Linked DNA regions of Homo sapiens: regions 2 and 3 are each linked to region 1. Evidence: promoter capture Hi-C in 16 types of primary human blood cells and fetal thymus (Javierre and others, 2016). All regions are on one chromosome and are shown on one strand. Each heading gives the region's core, a stretch centred on a gene start or on the middle of the fragment in contact. The rest is flanking DNA. Distances are from core to core; before and after follow the strand shown.

Region 1 (3,196 bases), core at 234-2,733:
TGTGGTGGCACACGCCTGTAATCCCAGCTACTTGGGAGGCTGAGGCAGGAGAATTGCTTAAACCTGGGAGGCAGAGGTTGCAGTGAGCTGAGACTGCGCCATTGCACTCCAGCCTGGGCAACAGAGCAAGCCTCCATCTCAAAAAAAAAAAAAAAAAGAATCTTTGTTGAGGAATACAGATTGAGCTTGAACTTGTGAACTAGGATATTGGGCCCTGGCTAAAGGCCTCCATGTTTATTTATTTATGTATTTTGGTAGAGCTGAGAGTCTCATTATGTTGCCCAGGCTGGATTTGAACTCCCGAGCTCAAGTGATCCTCCTTTCTCAGCCTCCCGAGTAATTTACTCTTATTCCTGGTTGTAAATGTTAGGGATGACCAGTCCATAGCATGGGGAGGGATGAGGGCTATGCATAAGAAGGCTCAGACATTGGAGCCTCCAGAGGTGGGTAACATTTGCTTTCGGGTTTCTCACTGGGGGAAGGAAAGGCTATGGCCAAAGCCCTGGGCATAATTTATATATGGATCTTTGGGATAAGCAAGATTTAAACAACAACAACAACAACAACAACAAGAAACTTAAAAAAACAAGTTTTTAATTTACAGGAAAAAAATGGAAGGTAATAGAGGGTCCCCACATATTCTGCACCCAATTTCTCTTTTTATTAACATCTTAGCATTAGTATTATGCATTTGTAACAACTAATGAACTAATATTGATACATTATTATTAATTAAAGTCCACCCTTTATTTAGATTTCCTTAGTTTTTACCCAGTATTCTTTTTCTCTTCCATGATCGCATTCAGAAAACCACATTACATTTAGTCATCAGGTCTCCTTAGCCCTCTTAGTTGTGACAGTTTCTCAGAATTCCTTTGATTTTGATCACCTTCACCTTAGTTTCCTCTTTACTTTCCCTTGTATCCAAGCTGTATGGAGGGCCTGGAGATTCTGATAGGACTGTAAGATTCGGGGACGGTGATATGTGTGCAACTAAGGCACCTCGGTGTCGCTTTTAGAATATAGTTGTGGAAATGAGAATAGCTCTGGTAGCTCCAGGGGCTTAGGAGAACAGAAAGAGCCCAGGAAAGGAGAAAGACCTTATTGCTGAACGCCACACCCTTGCCCCCACGCCACACCCTTGCCGCACCTACTAACTAGGGGCTAACGAATGAAAGGGTGTCGGAATATGATGGAGAAGCCCGGTCGACAGTGACGTCGTGGGCGACGCCGGGTTGTGAGCGGCCTTTCGAGCTCCCTCGAGTCCCTGAGTCTCTGTAGTGCCTCAGCTCCTGGATGTCCTCCCTTAAAGGAGAAGAACAATGCGGGCCGACTAGACGAGTCCCTTAGTTTCCTCGCCGGCGCAGACAAATACGGTTTCAGTCCAAGGAACTACCATTCCCAGAAGACAGCGGGGCGTTCCTTGCTGCATTTCTATTGGTTGGCGTTTGTTACTCCCAGCCAATAGAAAGTGAGCTTCTTGACAAGTGCCAAAATGGCGATGCCTACCACCTAGAACTGGATTGTGCGGTAGGCTTAAATTTGGGGAGGTGGTGGATGAAAAGGAAATTGGGAGGTATAGTTACAGGGCTGGAGAAGGTGGAGGAAATGAGGGAGCAAATCTGGACTTGGAATGGTGGTGGCCAAGGGACGCTTTTAGAGCTAAGGGCGTAATTAGGCAACCAGGACTGCCTTAACTCCTTGATGCCCTGTTTAATCTATTAGTCCCTTTGATACTTCTTTATTCATTTATTTGAGAGACGGAGTTTTGCTCTTGTTGCCCAGGCTGGAGTGCAATGGTGCGATCTCGGCTCACCCCAACAACCTCCGCCTCCCGGGTTCAAGCGATTCTACTGCCTCAGCCTCCCGAGTAGCTGGGATTACAGGCATGCACCACCAAGCCCGGCTAATTTTGTATTTTTAGTGGAGACGAGGTTTCTCCATGTTGGTCAGGCTAGTCTCGAACTCCTGACCTCCGGTGATTCGCCCGCCTCTGCCTCCCGAAGTGCTGGGATTACAGGTGCGAGCCACTGCGCTCGGCCGATACTTTCTTAGTGCCCCAGTTTAAGGAAGGGCGGTTCAGGAGGAGAGAGTCTGACAGGATCTTACTTTATCCCTTTAGCTCTTTTTCTTTCAAATTCCTCTGTCTCGCTTAAATCTTCCCGCATCTTCTCCTTTCTATTTAATTCTGCCTTCCCCGGTTCTCCTTAGAACCTCATGTCCTTTTCTTTAGCTCCATTTCTTTCACCTCAAAGCTGGCCGCCACCGCTGCCACCTGCTCAGAGTGAAATAATGAAGGTGGTCAACCTGAAGCAAGCCATTTTGCAAGCCTGGAAGGAGCGCTGGAGTGACTACCAATGGGCAATCAACATGAAGAAATTCTTTCCTAAAGGAGCCACCTGGGATATTCTCAACCTGGCAGGTCTCAAGTGAACTGGGAAAGAAAGATGGGAGGGATAAACCCAGAGAAGTTGTAATCACTCAGTTGTGTTTTGCTATTCCTCTTGCAGATGCGTTACTAGAGCAGGCCATGATTGGACCATCCCCCAATCCTCTCATCTTGTCCTACCTGAAGTATGCCATTAGTTCCCAGGTAAGCTTCCCGCAAACCCCCACCAAGAAGTGAGAGTTCTGGGGGTAAAAAACTTGGAGTGCATTTGGGCCCCGGTGGTTCATGGCTGTAATCCCAGCATTGTGGGAGGCTGAGGCAGGCGGATTGCTTGAGCCCAGGAGTTCAAGACCAGCCTGCGTAACATGGCAAAACCCAGTCTCTACCCAAAAATACAAAGAGTTACCCCTGCGTGGTGGTGCCCCTGTAGTCCCAGCTACTTGGAAGGCTGAGGTGGGAGGATCACCTGAGCCCTGGGAGGTCGAGACTGCAATGAGCCATGATCCTGCCACTGCCCTCCAGCCAGAGCAACAGAGTGAGACCCTGTCTCAGGAAAGAAACAAACAAACACAATTTGGGGTGCAGTTGTACAATTGTCAGCTTACTCTTTCTAGATGAAAGAGTAAGATTCTAGATTGATCTGTTTGAACAGATCATTTCAGTGAGTTTCAGTGTTCTCATAAAAATAATACTTCATTTGTTGTGATGAATATTACATTCACTTATTCTGCTGGGAGTGGTAGCAGGTAGCACAGGCCTGTGGCCCCACCTACTCAGAAGGTGGAGGTAGGAGGCTTGCTTGAGCCC
Region 2 (3,196 bases), core at 202-2,701, 110 kb before region 1:
GCCCAAAGTGCTGGGTTTATAGGCGTGAGCCACCGTGCCTGGCTGCATTTCAATTTTCTACTCTTTAGGAATACATTTATCAATAAATTTTTAGTACAACATAGAACTGAAAAGCAAACAAATCAATATTCTTACCCATATTTCTAGAAAATAAAGATCCTATTTTGGCCTGGCACAGTGGCTCACGCCTGTAATCACATTTTGGGAGGCCAATGCAGGCAGATCACCTGCGGTCAGGAGTGTGAGACCAACCTGGCCAGCATGGCAAAACCCCATCTCTACTAGAAATATAAGAATTAGCCGCACTTGGTGGTAGGCACCTGTAATCCCAGCTGCTCGGGAGGCTGAGGCAGGAAAATCGTTTGAACCAGGGAGGCAGAGCTTGCAGTGAGCAGAGACTGCGCCACTGCACTTCAGCCTGGGCGACAGAGCAAGGCTCTGTCGCAAAAAATAGTAATAATAAAAAAAAGACACTATTTTAAAAATATCACATTAAAAAAAATACACACATACATACATATATATCCACATAGGTATTCCTGGAACATATGCAAGAATTATTAAAAGTGGCAGGCTGGGCGCAGTGGCTTACACCTGTAATCCCAGCACTTTGGGAGGCCGAGGCAGGCGTATCACTTGAGGTCAGGAGTTCGAGACCAGCCTGGCCAACATGGTGAAACTCTGTCTCTACTAAAAATACAAAAATTAGCCGGGAGGCGGAGGTTGCAGTGAGCCAAGTTTGTGCCACTGCACTCCAGCCTGGGTGACAAAAGCAAAACTCCATCTCGAAAAAGCAAAACAAAAAAACAAAAAAACAGCGGCAGCCTCTAATGGGCCCAGAGGATAAGAATGGAAGGGAGACTTACTATACGATACCTAACATATAAGAGGAGCTTAATCTTCCTTGATAATCTCTCTCTCCATGAATTATCTTTTTTTTTTTTTCTGTTTTGAGACAGGGTCTTGCTCTGTTGCCCAGGAGTGCAGTGGCACAATCATGGCTTACTGCAATCTCAATCTCCTGGGCTCAAGTGATCCTCCCACCTCAGCCTCCCAAGTAGCTGCGACTACAGGCACATGCCACCACACCTGGCTGATTTTTTTTTATTTTTAGTAGAGACGAGGTCTCGCTATGTTGCCTAGGCAGTTCTCAAACTGCTGAGCTCAAGCAATCCTCCTCCCTTGGCCTCCCAAAGGGCTGGGATTACAGGCATGAACACTGTACCTGGCCCATGAATTGTCTCTTAAACATGCAGTGCCTAATAACTATACTTTGACGTAAGTTGTGAACTCTCCCATCTCAAAATGGCTTAGAGCAGAAATTCCCAACCTTTTTGATTATGCGGACCCCTTTTTAGGATCTAAAAATTTTCATGGATCCCCATGAGATATTCACTGAGAAAACATACAATGACAAACAACTGCTAGGCTGGATGTAGTGGTTCACGCCTGTAATCCCAACACTCTGGGAGGCCGAGGTAGGTGGATCACTTGAGGTCCGGAGTTTGAGACCAGCCTGGCCAACATGGTGAAACCCTGTCTCTACTAAAAATACAAAAATCAGCCAGACATGGTGGCATGAATTTGTAATCCCAGCTATTTGGGAGGCTGAGGCAAGAGAATTGCTTAAACCCAGGAGGTGGAGGTTGCAGTGAGCCAAGATTGCACCACTGATACTAGTCTGGGCAAAAGAGTGAGACCCTGTCAAAAAAAAAAAAAAAAAAAAAAAAATTCGCCAGGAATGGTGGTGTGCGCCTATAGTCCCAGCAACTTGGGAGGCTGAGGTGTGAGATCATTTCAGCCCAGGAGGTAGAGGTTGCAGTGAGCCATAATTGTGCCACTGCGCTCCAGTCTTAGCAACAGAGAGAGATCCTGTCTCAAAAAAAAAAAAAAAAAAACACACAATGAACTGATGCGTGCGTGCCTGTAGTCCCAGCTACTCAGGAGGCTGAGGCGGGAGAATCACTTTAACCTGGGAGGCAGAGGTTGCAGTGAACCGAGATCGCACCACTGCACTCCAACCTGGACAACAGAGACTGTCTCAAAAACAAACAAAAAACAACAAACTGTTATACATTCAATAACACTTTAAGTTTACATTTTATTAATTTACATATATTCAAAAATAGTAGTACATAAGGGGGGAGATGTATATTTTAGTCTATAGATAATGAGAACTGAATGAGTAGACATGCAACTCTTTTTTGAGACAGGGTCTCACTCTGTCGCCCAGGCTGGAGTGCAGTGGTGTGATCTCAACTGACTATAGCCTTGACTTCCTGGGCTCAAGTAATCCTCCCACCTCAGCCCCCACAAGTAGCTGGGACTACAGATGTACACCACTATGCCCAACTAATTTTTGTATTTTTTGTAGAGACAGAGTTTCACCACATTACCCAGGCTGGTCTGAAACTTCTGAGCTCAAGCGAACCTCCTGCCTCAGCCTCCCAAAGTGCTAGGATTACAGGCATGAGCCACTGCGCCCAACCAGATGTGCAAACTCTTGATAATGACTCCATGATTTCCCAATGCACTTATCCTCAAGCTGGAAAATGGTAGCTTTTTTTAATGCCTATGAGTACTGGTTTTCTGCAGCAGAAAATTCCTGCAGCCAGAACATATCCAGAATCACATAATTACAAAAATTTGACCTAAAAAACCTTAAAGGACAACTTGTACAACCATCACATTTCAGAAATGAAAAAAATTAGTCCAAGTGCTCTCTCTCTCTTTTTACTATCTTCTTCCCTCTTTTACCACATCAAGATTGGGTAACACTGTTCATGACACAGAAAGTGCTGGGTCTACACACAAAGGATCATTAGGCCATTAGAAAGGGCCAGGAAATGGACGTGTGGCTAGTTCTAGGTAGGAAAAGGCAGCAGCTAAGGCTCATGATAAGGGAACTGGCTTTAGAATAGGGTTACTCTCCTCTCCTTGTCCTCCCCAGATTTGGACCTAAGGAGGCAGAGCTATGGCTAGGGAGGCCTACGAGAACACAGAGAAATGGGTTCAAGGAAAGGTGGTCTAGTCTTCATTGGTGGGTTACATCTGAAACCTGGTAGATGTATGTACACTGGTCTCTCACTCACCTACTGGGTCTGATACTTGAACTGAACCAGACTGCCCTGTCACTCAAGACCCAGGCTGGCCCCAATAATCTGGTCAAAGAGGCTCAACATGAGATTCCTGAATT
Region 3 (3,196 bases), core at 428-2,927, 68 kb after region 1:
ACAAAACAGTGGGCCAGGCGCAGTGGCTCATGCCTGTAACCCTAACACTTTGGGAGGCTGAGCCCAGGAAATCACTTGAGCCCAGGGGTTGGAGACCAGCTTGGCAAGAAGGTGAAATCCTGTCTCTACAAAAAAAATGCAAAGATTAGCTGGGCGTGGTGGCACATGCCTGTAGTCCCAGCTACCCAAGAAGCTGAGGTGGAAGGATCACTTAAGCCGGGGAGGTCAAGTGAACTGTGATCACACCACTGCCCTCCAGCATGGGCAACAAAGCAAGACCCAATCTCAAAAAAACCCCCAACCAAACAACAACCAAAAATAGTGTGGTAAGGAAAGGAAACAAACCAGGGAATTAAGGAGTGCGACTTACTTCCTGAGTGTGCTCCTGTGACAGTGGCTATGATGAACAAAGAAGCTGGCCCTAGCTGGGGGAGTGGTAGAAGTGCAGTTTGCAAATGGAGCTATTAGTCCATAATAACAGCTACCATTTATGAAAATATCACGAAAGCTTACTATATGCAGATCATTGCGCTAAGTATTTCTAAACAAATTATTTTATGTAACGCTAACCATCTTGTAAGGTAGGCACTATTATCCCCATCTTACATATAGCTGGGAGAAATTAATTTGCCTAGGGTATGGCTGGGATTGGAACCCAGGTCTTTCTGTCTCCAAATGCCCCTACTTTTCCCCAAGAATGTACTACGCTGGTATCCCCCACAGACCGGTACAGCATGACCACTGCAAGCCCTGTCCCACAGTGCCCAGAGCAAGAGTGGGTTCTCCTGGGATGTGGGATCAAACGCATACCTCTATGGGGAAAGAGTGTGGGGGACAGTTCTTAAGAATCAATGATTATTTCCATTTCTTCACCAGGGACCATCTCCCCGCCAAACCCCTTGCATCACTTGGGGCTTATGAATCGCTCTCACTGCATCCTGGATACCTCTTTGTAGCGCTTGCTGTTCATCATGAAGATGACCACGAGGAGTTGGAGATAGGCTTCCACTTCAGGCAGGAGGGGTGTCGACGCAGCTTTTCCCGTGCGGGGACGGAACTGTAAATCAGCCTCTGTGTCCATGGGCTAGGAGAGGACAGAAGTTACCATGGAAAAGCTCAGTCTGATCAAGTAACCAAGAATTTATTGAGCATCCACTATGTATTTCAACATATTTATTGAGTGTCTACCATGTGCCAAGATTTTGTTAGGTGCTAGGGATAAAAAAATAAAGATTACAGTCTTTCCCAAAGAAATCAAGGAGGAGCTGGGTGTGGTGGCTCACGCCGGTAGTGCCAGCTACCTGGAAGGCTGAGGCAGGAGAATGCTTGAGGCCAGGAATTTGAGACCAGTCTGGGCAACACAGTGAGACCCCATCTCTCAAAAAATAAAAAAGAACTAGCCAGGCATGGTGGCATGCACCTGTATTCCCAGCTACTCAGGAGGCTGAGGCAGGAGGACTGCTTGATACCAGGAGTCTGAGCCTGCACTGGGCCATAAGTGTGCCACCGTGCTTCAGCCTGGGTGACAGAGCAAGACCCCATCTCAAAAAAACAAAACAAGTCAAGGAGGCTGGCAATATAATATTAATAAACACAATAAAGTGTTACAGGAGAACAAAAAATTTCTTTACACAACATAATGGAGACAAAGGACGATGTAAGGAACCTTCAAAGAGGCTACAACCTAAGTGGAGACATTAAACCACCACACCTGGATCCACTGCAAATACTACTGGACAGGGCTGAACGAAATAATTCTAGAGATGAAATCAGAATAATGAGACCAAAAAATGGTTTCTTGTGGGAACAAAGAAAATTTAGGGAAAGTCAACATATAAACAAAACATATTTTCCTATGTTGTCACTGACACTGGAAAAAATAATGTGTTACAGTCACCCCCAAAATAATCACGTTTCGTGAGTTTAGCGATGTGAAGGTCAGAAAATATTCAAGGTGGAGTTGGGGGAACAGTACGCTTTTCCCCTTTCCCAGACAAGAAACTCTTCACTGCCCTGCCTCCAGGGATGTTCTGAGTTTCCCCATCCACGGAGCTGACTGAGTATACAGGATTTTAAGGAAATGCAGGTGCTGGAAGGTCAGTGGAATTGGAGAAGGCTGAGACCTGGCCCATGCCATGAATCATGAGGGAGAGTTTACAGCTACAGAGGATAAGGAGAGGTCTCTCCTGGCACGGAGGCGCCACCACCACCACCAAACTGACTTCGTCTGCATTCACTACGTACCAGGCACTGCTCTAGGAGCTTTATACTGCCCGCTTCCCAATCCGTTCATCACGTTTAACAAATGAAGAAAACGAGGCACAGCAAAATGAAGTCACTCGCCCAAGTCCCACAGGTACTAACTGTCAGGGTTTGGATTCAAATTCAACTCTACCTCTAAAATCTGTGGGGTTTTTTTTGTTTTGTTTTGAGGTAGGGGGGTCACCCTGTCACCTAGGCTAGAGTGCAGTGGTGCAATCTTGGTTCACTGCAATCTCCACCTCCTGCATTCAAGTGATCCTCCTGCCTCAGCCTCCCGAGTAGCTGGGACTACAGGCAGGTGCCACCATGCCTGGCTAATTTTTGTACTTTTTGCAGAGACAGGGTCTCACCATGTCGCCCAGGCTGGTCTCAAACTCCTGGGCGGGCAGATTGTTTGAATCCAGGCTGGACTCAAACGATCTGCTCGCCTCAGCCTCCCAAAGTGCTGGGATGACGATGTTAGCCACTGTGCCCGCCTCAGCCTCCCAAAGTGCTGGGAAGACAGGTGTGAGCCACTGTGCCTGGCCCTGACAGCTGTGCTCCTCCTAACCACTGTTCTCTACCTCCTCCATGGTGAAGCTTCAGAAGAAAGAGGCAGCAGCACCTTCTCTCTCCTAGAACAACAGAGAGGTCACCCAACGCAACCTCAACTGGAGTAGGGGGTACAGGTTGCAGGGTAGTGGGAAATGAGTTTGGCTGGGAGGGTCCTGATCCCCTGACTTTGAAGAATGACACTACAGGGCAGTGGACGGTTCCCTTGTCACTGTGCAGATGAGTATTCAAATGGACTGCTTTGGCTTCTCTCCTCATGCTACCACAGGTAATAAGATGGGACTTTAGGATGGAAAACAATGCTGTTCCTGGGGATCTGAGGCCAGGCCTGCACCCTTTAAGTTGGCCTGACTCACTCACCTCTTCCAGGAAGGGGAGCAAA

What was found. The method cuts DNA at HindIII sites, captures the fragments that hold promoters and counts their contacts. A CHiCAGO score of 5 or more calls a contact.
Region 2: a fragment that was not itself captured here is called in contact with the fragment with the promoter of MED24 in region 1 in 16 of 17 cell types (total CD8 T cells, activated CD4 T cells, total CD4 T cells and 13 more); the score reaches 10.7 in total CD8 T cells.
Region 3: a fragment that was not itself captured here is called in contact with the fragment with the promoter of MED24 in region 1 in 1 of 17 cell types (erythroblasts); the score reaches 5.6 in erythroblasts.

What each region holds. Positions count from the first base shown.
Region 1 is chr17:40,052,695-40,055,890 of GRCh38, reverse strand. It overlaps MED24 (mediator complex subunit 24), which reads left to right and starts at 1,483. Exons shown (of 26, transcript NM_014815.4): 1 at 1,483-1,530; 2 at 2,256-2,422; 3 at 2,511-2,593. The coding sequence starts at 2,293. RefSeq lists an enhancer at 1,224-1,283. The HindIII fragment of the contact is 3,100 bases long and covers 1-2,600 here.
Region 2 is chr17:40,158,247-40,161,442 of GRCh38, reverse strand. All of the region lies in intron 3 of CASC3 (CASC3 exon junction complex subunit), which reads right to left. Among named protein-coding and RNA genes, the nearest start is that of MIR6866, 2.1 kb to the left of the region's middle. The HindIII fragment of the contact is 7,918 bases long and covers 1-3,196 here.
Region 3 is chr17:39,984,463-39,987,658 of GRCh38, reverse strand. PSMD3 (proteasome 26S subunit, non-ATPase 3) reads right to left here. Exons shown (of 12, transcript NM_002809.4): 2 at 3,175-3,196; 3 at 947-1,084. LOC124904000 (a long non-coding RNA gene) reads left to right here. Exons shown (of 3, transcript XR_007065751.1): 3 at 877-961. Among named protein-coding and RNA genes, the nearest start is that of PSMD3, 5.3 kb to the right of the region's middle. The HindIII fragment of the contact is 2,333 bases long and covers 511-2,843 here.